Regions from separate parts of the Homo sapiens genome. Here region 1 is linked to region 2. The links are contacts of gene promoters, found by promoter capture Hi-C in blood cells and fetal thymus (Javierre and others, 2016). All regions are on one chromosome and are shown on one strand. The core of a region is centred on a gene start or on the middle of the fragment in contact, and the rest is flanking DNA. Distances in the headings are between cores, read along the strand shown.

Region 1 (4,863 bases), core at 73-2,572, 230 kb after region 2:
CTGGTCTCAATGAAAACACAAATCAAACTTGATTTAGTTACCTTCCCTGTTTTTTTTTTTTTTGAGACAGAGTTTCACTCTTGTCACCCAGGCTGGAGTGCAATGACACATTCTCAGGTCACTGCAACCTCCACCTCCAGGATTCAAGCAATTCTCCTGCCTCACCCTCCCAAGTAGCTGGGATTACAGGCGCCCACCACCACACCCGGCTAATTTTTGTACTTTTAGTAGAGACGGGGTTTCACTATGTTGGCCAGGCTGGTCTTGAACTCTTGACCTCAGGTGATCTGCCCGCCTCGGCCTCCCAAAGTGCTGGGATTACAGGCGTGAACCACCACGCTCAGCCTACCTTTACTGTTAAAAAGCTTCCTTAAAAGAGTTGAGCAAACTCTGCCATTCATAACCTGATCCCAGTCTAATTTTCATCTCCTGCCATATTTCCACACATATGCTGCCTTGTTCACCTCTCTCCCTCCACCTGGCTAACTCTTACATATCCTCATAACACTCAATTCCAGCATCACCCCTTCCTCCCTGCAGAGGCAAAAAACAAATTTGGTTTTGAAGCTACTGAGATCTAAATGACCACAGGACATTCAAGTAGGGAAAAACGATTAGTAGCTATCCATAAAGAACTAGAACGAAGGAGAAAGAAAGGGCTGATTTCAGATCTGGACATATCAAATGATAGCAGAAAACAGGACAATCCACAAGTCTAAGAATATGTAGAGGGACAAGGGTCCAGGATCCATGACTGGAATAAGAATAGGCACCGAAATGGAAACGTTGACTGGAGACACAGAGAAGACAAGCATTTAGAGCCTGTGTAGAAAGAAATCAAGTGGATTAGTAACTAGATGGGAGCAAGAGAATCAAGTTAAGCACATCCCCACTCCACTCTCACAGCAGGAGACGCGCAGGCACGTGTTTCAAGACAGAAGCACCAGGTAGATGGCTCAGCATGGTACTGGTTACAGAAGTTTGTCAGATGAAGAAATGAGAGGCTGAAAATACCAGGAAAGAAGCTCCCAGAAAGATGATGACCCAAGGAAAAGTTAATATTCCAGAAGAACGTCTTCTTCAAACCTCCGAGGAGTTTCTCATAAGCCAGCTCTGTTGTGTGTGGCCTGCACCAGGTTAGCATATACAGTGCTTTATGTCTTCATTTTAATTAGGCCATCAGTTTCAGCCTTCCTCCCTCCATGGCAACACTCCAATGCATTGAAACAGCAGTTCTCTCCAGGCCAGGCAGTCAGGTACTTCCTGTCTGCCATATTCTTTCTCTCCCTAGGTTCTTCTACCTAGCCACTGCTCCTGAGTTTGCAACTCTTGCTACAGATACAATTGCTGGTTAAAACTCCTGTCAGGTTTGGGGTTATTAAATACTGAAATATAAAGAGCCAACCCTTAGGCGAATAGTTATATTCTCACCTAATTTAGAAAATTATATTAACTACATAGTTTTGGGCCTATTTCAAATTACATTTAATTCTGTGTTTTATTAAGATCTCAACTAGCTGAGATCAGCTTATATTTTTCCCAATTAGAAGTCAGACTCATTTCCCAAGATGGATCTTTTTCAATCTTCTTGCCAGCCTCTTTCCACTCTTCCCCTAAAGATGACTACCAAGTGCAGCCTTAAGATCAGATTTTTATAAATGAACACACAAGAGAGTTTCCTGTCTGCCATAAAAATCCTCTATTAACATAAAATTCCATCACCAATCTCCCCTTGCTTCCTATCCTTTTAAATATCTCCACCTCAGCAGATAAAGTTAGGGAGACTATATGCGAAATAAACTTCTCTGGCTGTCTGAATTGCCATGGAGACTGATGACAAAAGCCTTCTCTTAGGCTTTTCTTCTGTAAAACCTAAAAGGTACAAATAGAGCTACTGAAAGTAGTCTACTTAATTGCAGCTTAAAGCGGGGAGGGGATTTTTAAGATTTGTGAAAATTACATCATTACTCCCTAAATAAAACTGCACTGGGGGAAAGAAACTTCACTAAAAAATTGGAGACTAACTACTTCTCTAATAAAAAAAAGCCCTGAGTTTGAAATTAAAGCACAAATTAGTAGAAAGAGGTGGAAATTTGAGAAACATGCTATCAGCTTTCATCAAAGGATGCTTCAAGGAATAACATTATGAAATCAGTTATTGCATTTGGTATAGGGATATTCTTGCACAGTGCCCAGTGGGAGATCCCTCAGTGTTTCCTGTATTAAACTTCAGGCAAGAAATTTTTTTTCAGAGATAAATGTTGGGAAAGAAAAGCTTTGCTAGCCCAAGGAATTGATATATGTGTTATCTTACAGGCAATGAAAATCACAGAATTAACTGTGACTTCACTGATTAGGTAACTCAGAGACTAATTTATAATCCAATTCTGGCAAGTGTGTTGGGAAACATGGCCTATACATCAGTGAGCTGGTTTCCTTTCTGGTTTTGACCTCATGGTCCAACTTGTTTTTATCTAGTCCTGACTTTTTATTATATGTGTATTTTGCTATTTTATCATGTGTGTTTCCTGTAAAGTCATCTCCAGTGTTTTATGGGATGAAGAAAGGTATTAACAGAGATAACTCATAGAAGAAAATGTTATTTTACAATTTTTTTCTCTCCCTCTTTTTTTCTGAGACAGGGTCTAGCTCTGTCACACAGGCTGGAGTGTAGTGGCACAATCATAGCTCACTGCAGCCTCGATCTCCTGAGCTCAAGTGATCCTCCCACCTCAGCCTCCCAAGTAGCTGGGTACAGCATGCTACACTTGGCTGATTTTTAAATTTTTTGTAGAGATGGGGTCTTGCTATATGACATTGCCCAGGCTGGTCTTGAACTCCTCCCTTGGCCTCCCAAAGTGTTGGGATTCCAGGTATGAGCCACCATGCCTGGCCTATTTTAGAACTTTTAAAAGCTGGCACTGATGACACTCAATGAACAAAGCAGAATGAAGATAATACTCACACTGAAGTAAAAATGAGAGATATAAAAAAAATGTAAAAATGATAAATTCAGAAGTGAATGACAAATAACAAATAAATGTCTAAGAAATAATAGCATCTCTTAGACCTTTTCCCTGTAGACATACTTAATTCACAATAGCCAGCCAAAATCTTCCTTGAGCAAATTAATAAAAGGCATATTTTTAATATGACAATATCACTAGTAGTAGTTAATAGGTAGTGTTTGAATACTTTATCATTAACAAAGCACTACAATATCCATTATCTCATTTAATTATGCTAATGATTTTAAAACAAAACTTCTACCTTTTGTGTCTCAGGGTCTATTAACCAGTTCCAGGCACCAGTAGCTGTACAGACAGATACCACTATAAGAAGCACTGATGAAAGATAAACACGAAATTAGTAAGCAAATACATACTTAATATGTGATACTATCACCACCAGTTCCTACTAAATGACAACCAAAGAATATAGCACTTTATTAAATGGAAAATGCACTAACTAGACTCAGGAATTAGAAGGCTTGCCATCTGGCTTCGAGGAATTCTCTTAAACATTGTGAACCTTAGTAATTAAGGATACTGTTTCTCTTATGATTTGGTCAGAACTTATGATGATCAATGAAATAAAAAGCAATTCGATGGTGACACTTCAGTAGAAGAGTCTACGCTATGTAACGTTCACTGTGCTTAGTGAAGATTTTGCAGATCTTGTAAACTCAAATTAAAAAAACAAACTCATTTTCTACTGTAAACAAACCATCAAAGACTCCTTTTTGAATGTACTGAGAAGACTGACTAAAGGATTTTGCTTTGCAGATGACTGCCATGGTTACATTAAAGTCAGTGCAGGAAGTATGGAGCACACCAGTTAGTATCGGATTTTCTTTAAGAGACTTAAAGAAAGGTAGGGTAGAAATTACTGCCAGTAAAACTTAGAAAAGGTCTTTCTCTCCACTAAGCTAGAATGATTTTAGAAATTCTAAATAAATCATAAGTAAAACTTAAGAATGGTATTAGTAAAAAATAATAAAGGGGCATCAAGACCCAGTTAATATTCTGGAGATGATGACCGTTGCCTGTCTTTCAGCTAGGATGCATACATTTTTCAAATGTGGAAATTCAGTTTCCAAGAACAACAGAAATATAGCAAATATACAAATATAGTAAAACCTTAATTATCTAGAATTCCTTGATGTACTTTTAGAAGACGTAAACTAAAGAAAAAAAATCTTGTTTTAGGTATTAAATAGGATCAAAATATCAAAACTATGTTCTGAACTCAGAACAGACTGAACTCAATTTCTTACAATTCTGTATTTCCAGAAATGCACTATATTACACATGTATGTTTTAAAAAAATAAGAAAAAGCAAAATCAATACACTAGAAAGGACCTCATACACATGCTTTATTTGACTGGTTCATTAACCAAGTAAGTGCTAAGACCATGAGTCAGAGAAAAAGTAAAGTATATTTATATCACATTTTATAAGATAGGGCAGTATCATATACATTTTAAAAGATTTTCAAGTAACAGTGAAACATAGGTTTTGGGGATAATTCCTAGGTAAACCAGAGAACCTAGGAAAATCATTACCTGTAAATTCTGACCAACCAGAATTCTCACAGCATACTAATAAAACTTTGCAAATAGATTTAATAAAAATTATACAAAAAAATCTTGCCAGATCCTTAGATCCTTAGCTTCAATAGTGCTTTTTTGGTCCAGCAAACTGATTTACACTTTGAAATAAAGTAAATCCTCAATGTGTGCTACTACACTTCCTTCTTGATAGGAATTAAATCTAAATAATGACCATCTAGGAAATTAAAACTATTTGGCCCAGCGTGGTGGCTCACACCTGTAATCCTAGCACTTTGGGAAGCCAGGATGG
Region 2 (5,581 bases), core at 50-2,549:
CTGCAGGGCTGGCACTTGGCACTTCCTCTCAAATTGGCTGGCTTGTCACTTTTATGTCTCCTTTGGCCTCGTCTAAGACAATAATACAGTCATGATGTCACAATGGCAATGTCCTATTTACAGATTTTTTTTTCCCCAAGACAAATACTTAGATTTTAAACATGTCCTTCCACACACAGGCTAGAACCCCCTGTGATTCCCTGGGCAGCCCGGTCCTCACTCCGAGAAACACTGGTGTTGAGTCCACCCCTCACAGCCTCCATCTGCAAGATGGTGATGCTAGTGAAGGCCCACGGTCACATAGCCCTTCCAGACACATCCAGCCCACACTGGCTGCCCGTCCAGGCCTTGGACCCAGGGCCCCTGTCGTAGGTGGCTCGGCCTGGCCCCTACCTCCAGGCCCTTGGCTTCCCCCTCCCGGCCCTCCCTTCTCCTCTCCAGCAATGGCTGTCCAGGGAGGAAGCCCCCAGCCACAGATGTCCCTGCCCTTGACCCTGATGTGATGACACAGAGAAGAGGCAACTGCCTCACCCTCTGTACATACATGTTTAGATGAATGCATAGAAAGCTCCAGAAAGACCCGCTCCAGAAAGACCCACTCCAGATGGCCCATGCGGTCCCTGGGGGATAGAGGAGAGGCATTGCAGGGAAAGGGAAACCAGTCTGCTTTTTGGAGGCATCTTGGTTTCCTGACCCTCAGGCATGCACTCCTTTCAGAGGTTTTGTTTGTTTTTTGTTTTATAATTTCATAAAATTAGTTGAATTGGCCTTCCCTTGCCAATGTTTCCTTTCATTGAGAAAAGTCATGTGTGCTTGTAAATGTAAAATTACACCCTCGAGAAGGAGTGTGGACATTTGAGAGTCTGTGGTTCCTAGAATTCCAGATGGAACGGGCCACATGTACAACATTGTGGTCACAACCGCACTTTCTTGTCAGGCTGGGAAAAGCCAGTGACAAGTCGCCTCTGGTCCCCTGTTGAAGGGCCGCCTCTCCCAGCCATCTGCCCAGTAGGCTCACGGAGCCTCCTACTCCCCCAGCCCAGACCCTGCCCAGTGCACTCCCAGGCCAGGCTGCCGGGTGAGCTGCTTCCCACCCACTGTCCAGCCCCGTCCCCTGGGGCTCAAGCCACTAGGACTGGTGACACTCCATCCCCACACCCCACTTTTACCTGGCTCTCCTCCCCGGCCCCAGCAGCCGGCCAGGGTCTGCAGGGAGGTGGCCCGGCCCCCGCCTGCCCTTCCTCAGACGCGCCCAGGCTCACCCATCCGAAGGCTCCTTCCACGCTACCTAATGAGAGTGAGTCACATCTGGGACCCACCACTTCCTGCTCCGGCAGCGGCAGCAGCGGCGGCGGCGGCAGCAAGGCTAAGGCACAGCCCACAGCCCAGCCTCTCGGGGTGTGCAGGGCCCCCTCCCCCAGCCACAGTGCTGCTCTCCGCAGCCTGGGAGCTGCCAGGCCTGGGAGCTGTCGGGCTCCAATGACTTCATGGAAATTTGAAGCTTGAAGCTGGAACAATTTTGAAAAAATAATAATAAAACAAGCACCAAAAACCTCCATTAGAAGCCCCAAGACAACTGTTCAAAGTGGGGAGCAAATGCATCCTTAGTGAGCAATTAGCAATTAGCGGCCTGGCCTGAGCCTCCTGTGGGCTCTGACGCTCACAGACAGGCCCCCCGCGCCTTCCTGGGACTCAATTTCCCTATCTATGTAGTAAGGTGGCCCCGTCCACCTCTGAGAGGGGCCCAGGAGAGGTCAAAGATCTTCCAGCCCAGCCCACTGCCTCTCCATCTCACCTACGCTCCCATGCTGGGAGCAGGGCAGGGGCAGGCCCATCCTTGGGGCTCCTATTCCAAAATCAGAGTCCCTGGAGAGCCCCCAACATCCCTGGGCACCATGAGGCTGGGAATCAAACCCCAGCACCCCTTCTGCTATGCCAGGCCTCAGTTTCCCCACTGGGATCATGGGGCGCTCAGTGGCGAGGGAGCAGATCAGGAGAGGCTAAGAGGAGAGAGTGGAGACTCCCAAAACAGAGGGGGAGGCCTCCAGCCCGCTGGCCACAGCAGCACCTGGTCCTCAGGGAGCCCTTCTGAGCATGTGACTGGCATCCTGGGATTACGAGCTCCTCAAAGCAATGGTGTACCTCCTCCACCTCCCACATCCAGGGTCAGACACCCCTCTTCTGGTCTTCTAACCCCTGCACCTTCCTCCATCACAGCACCTCTGTGCTGTGACCACTGGTTGCTGGTCTGTCTTTCCTAGGTTATATCCTTGAGGAGGGCAGAGATGGGAGGGCAGCTGTAATATCAACAGCTGTGTCCCCAGCGTCCAGCCCCAGCTGGTCACAGAGTAGACATCCCACACATACTGATCAGGAGGAACTGAACATGTTAGGTGCTGTCTCTGTGCCAGGCCCCATGCAGGGAACTAGCAGGTGATCTAAGGTCTGCCATCTGGTGGAGACAGGCATAGGACTCACACAGGGTTCCAGGCTGCTCCAGAGGCCACAGGAGGGAGTGGGAGACCTCAGGGGATCCTCCCCATCAGGGTCGCCCTCCTATCAGCAAATGTCTCCCTAGCAAATGTCCCAGAGCAGAGAAGGAACAGACATCATCATCATCAAAAGAGGGGAAAGACAAGCCACTGACTAGGAGAAAGTCACATCCTATATGACTGACAAAAGACTCCTCCCTAGCATATATAAAGATCTCCCAGGCTTGGCATGGTGGCTCATGCCTGTAATCCCAGCACTTTGGGAGGCTAAGGTGGGCGGATCACCTGATGTCAGGAGTTTGAAACCAGCCTGGCTAACATGGCAAAATCCCGTTTCTACTAAAAGCACAAAAATTAGCCAGGCGTGGTGGCATGAGCCTGTAATCCCAGCTACTTGGGAGGCTGAGGCAGGAGAATCACTTGAACCTGGGAGGCAGAGGTTGCAGTGAGCCGAGATCACACCACTGCACTCCAGCCTGGGCAACAGAGTGAGACTCTGTCTCAGAAAAAAAAAAAAAAAAAAAGACCTCCCACAAACCAATAAGAAAAAGACAAATGGCCCAATTAAAAGATGAACAAGAGACTTACACAGGTACTTCAACAAAGAGGATGCCAAAATGACCAATAAGCACATGAAAAAGATACTCAACATCATTAGCCACCAGCAAATTAAAACCATATAGAGATTCCACTGTACCACTAGAATGGCTAAAATTAAAATGAAAATACCAAGTGTTGACAAGGAGGAGAAGCAGCTCTTCACTCTCATGTACTGCTAGTGGGAATGTAAAATGGAGCCACCATGATGAAAACTGCCTGGCAGTGTGGACAAAAGCAAACCATATGCTTCCCCAATGACTCAGCAATTCAATCTCAGGTATTTACCCAAAAGAAATGAGTACATGTGTCCACAAATGACTTCTATCCAAGTGTTCAGAGAAGCTTTCATCCTAACAGTCAAACTGCAAACCCAAACATCCTGCAATGAGTAAATGGATAAACAAATTTTCATATATTCACACAACAGAAAATTACTCAGCAGTAAAAAGGAACAGATCACTGCTAACACACAACATGAATGAATATCCAAGATGGCAAGGACAGTGAAAGACCCACCCACAAAAGACACATTCAGCACGTTTCCATTTATATGAAACTTCAGAAATGATGAAACTAATCTACAGTGACAGACAGCAAGACAGCGGTTGCCTCTAGGGAGGCCGCTGATTGGAAAGGGGCACACAGGAAACTTCTGGGGGCTGAGGAGGTTCTAAATCTCCCTGTGGGTGCTGGTTATACAGGCGAGTGCCTAAGTACACTCATTACCCTGTACATTGAAGGTTTGTGCACTTGCCTGTATGTAAATTACCCGTCCATTTTTAAATGGGTATTGAGGGATACCCGTTTGCGTATGCAGGAGGGCATGGTGCTGGATGCTCAGTAGATTCAGGAAAAAGAACAGATCTGACCTGGCCCAGTGGGCGAGAGGCTGATGAGACACATGCTCAAACCCTGAGGAAAGCGCGGCGTGGAGATGGAGCCGCTGGGGGAGATATCGGGGGCCAAGGGGAAGGGGCATAGGAGGCAGGGCAAGTCCAGGGGAATGGCAGGTGGGGAGCGACCCACCCTGACCAACATTTCTGCAAGATGATCTCGGCTTGAGAAAAGGGGCAGCTTGGAGAGGACACATGTAGATGCCTGGACACAGGAGGGGGGTTCCCCACTGCCTGCTGGGAGCTTATGGGGCCCTGGGCTTTCCAGCACCGGCCATAGAGCAGGGAGTGTGTGAAGATAAACTGGCCATACAGCAGAGGCTGTATGATAACAAACCCTGCAGTTTGATAATGAGAGGGGCACAGTAAACCCTGCCGTTTGATAATCAAGGTTCCTGTCCCACTGAGCAATACCTCCTGCCCTCCCAGGCTGCCCGCCCAGCTTTCTCCTTGGAAGATGTGGCGGTGAGTCTCTTCCCTGCTGCAGCCTCAGCACTGCCTCAAACCAGCTGCTCCCCGCAGCCGCAGCCACCAGCCACCACTTGACACCCCACCCCTCACGCTGTCTAGGAGGTCCCGGCAGGCAGGATCTGAGCACACACAGGTCAATGCTCCCTGGGATCCACACAGGCATCACCCAGGACTTTACACACACAGCCTCATGGCACTCCCTGGCAGCCCCACTGAGGAAGGCCCTGCTATCATCCCTCTGTAGAATAAGGCACCAAGGCTCAGAGACACCACATTGCTGGCCCAAGCACACACAGCTATGAAAAGGCAGAGCCAGGATTCAAGCTCAGATCTACCTGACTTCACAACCCATGCTCCTGACCCTCCCTGGGAACAAGGACAAGCTTCCATAGGGACAGGCTACCCCTAACCCCATTACAAGGTAATGAGCATGGTGAGTACCCTCACCCAAGATCTCCCAGCCCTGGCACACAGTGCTCCCAAGTGTGCTGAACAAACACCCGCTTTCTTTCAACTCCCCCAAAGAAGGGCAACCTTGGGCTTTCACAGTAGCAGACAGGGAAGGCTGGTTTCTGCTTGGTAGAGGCGCCAGGGCACACAGCACAACCCCAATCCTTTCCTGTCCCTCTCAGCAACCCCCATCCTCTTCCCTGGTGCTAGGGACACAAAACTGACTTGGACATAGTTCCCTTTCATGCAAGTTCCTAGGCTGGGAGGAGGTAAGAGGTGCCCATCAAAGGCATGGCATAAAGCTCTGGGGAGAAGCCGGCAGGGCATGGTGGCTCACACCTGTAATCCCAGTACTTTGGGAGGCTGAGGAGGGTGGATCACTTGAGGCCAGGAGTTCGAGACCAGCCTGGCCAACATGGTGAAACCCCGTCTCTAATAAAAATACAAAAATTAGCCGGGCTTGAGGGCAGGCGCCTGAATCCCAGCTACGCAGGAGGCTGAGGTGGGAGGAATACAAAAATTAGCCAGGCATTGTGGCGGGCACCTGAATCCCAGCTACTCGGGAGGCTGAGGTGGGAGGATCGCTTGAGCCTAGGAAGCAAAGGTTGCAGTAAGCTGAGATCACACCACTGCACTCCAGCCTGGGTGACAAAGTGAGACCCTGTCTCAAAAAAA

The links. Contacts are between HindIII fragments. The CHiCAGO score rates a contact against its expected background, and 5 or more counts as called.
Region 1: a fragment that was not itself captured here is called in contact with the fragment with the promoter of ADCY7 in region 2 in 1 of 17 cell types (M1 macrophages); the score reaches 7.9 in M1 macrophages.

What each region holds. Positions count from the first base shown.
Region 1 is chr16:50,028,206-50,033,068 of GRCh38, reverse strand. CNEP1R1 (CTD nuclear envelope phosphatase 1 regulatory subunit 1) reads right to left here. Exons shown (of 6, transcript NM_001281789.2): 3 at 3,271-3,344. Among named protein-coding and RNA genes, the nearest start is that of CNEP1R1, 5.4 kb to the right of the region's middle. The HindIII fragment of the contact is 1,910 bases long and covers 368-2,277 here.
Region 2 is chr16:50,262,269-50,267,849 of GRCh38, reverse strand. It overlaps ADCY7 (adenylate cyclase 7), which reads right to left and starts at 1,299. Exons shown (of 26, transcript NM_001114.5): 1 at 1,170-1,299. RefSeq lists enhancers at 1,527-1,616, 1,562-2,155, 3,223-3,402. The HindIII fragment of the contact is 14,845 bases long and covers 1-1,503 here.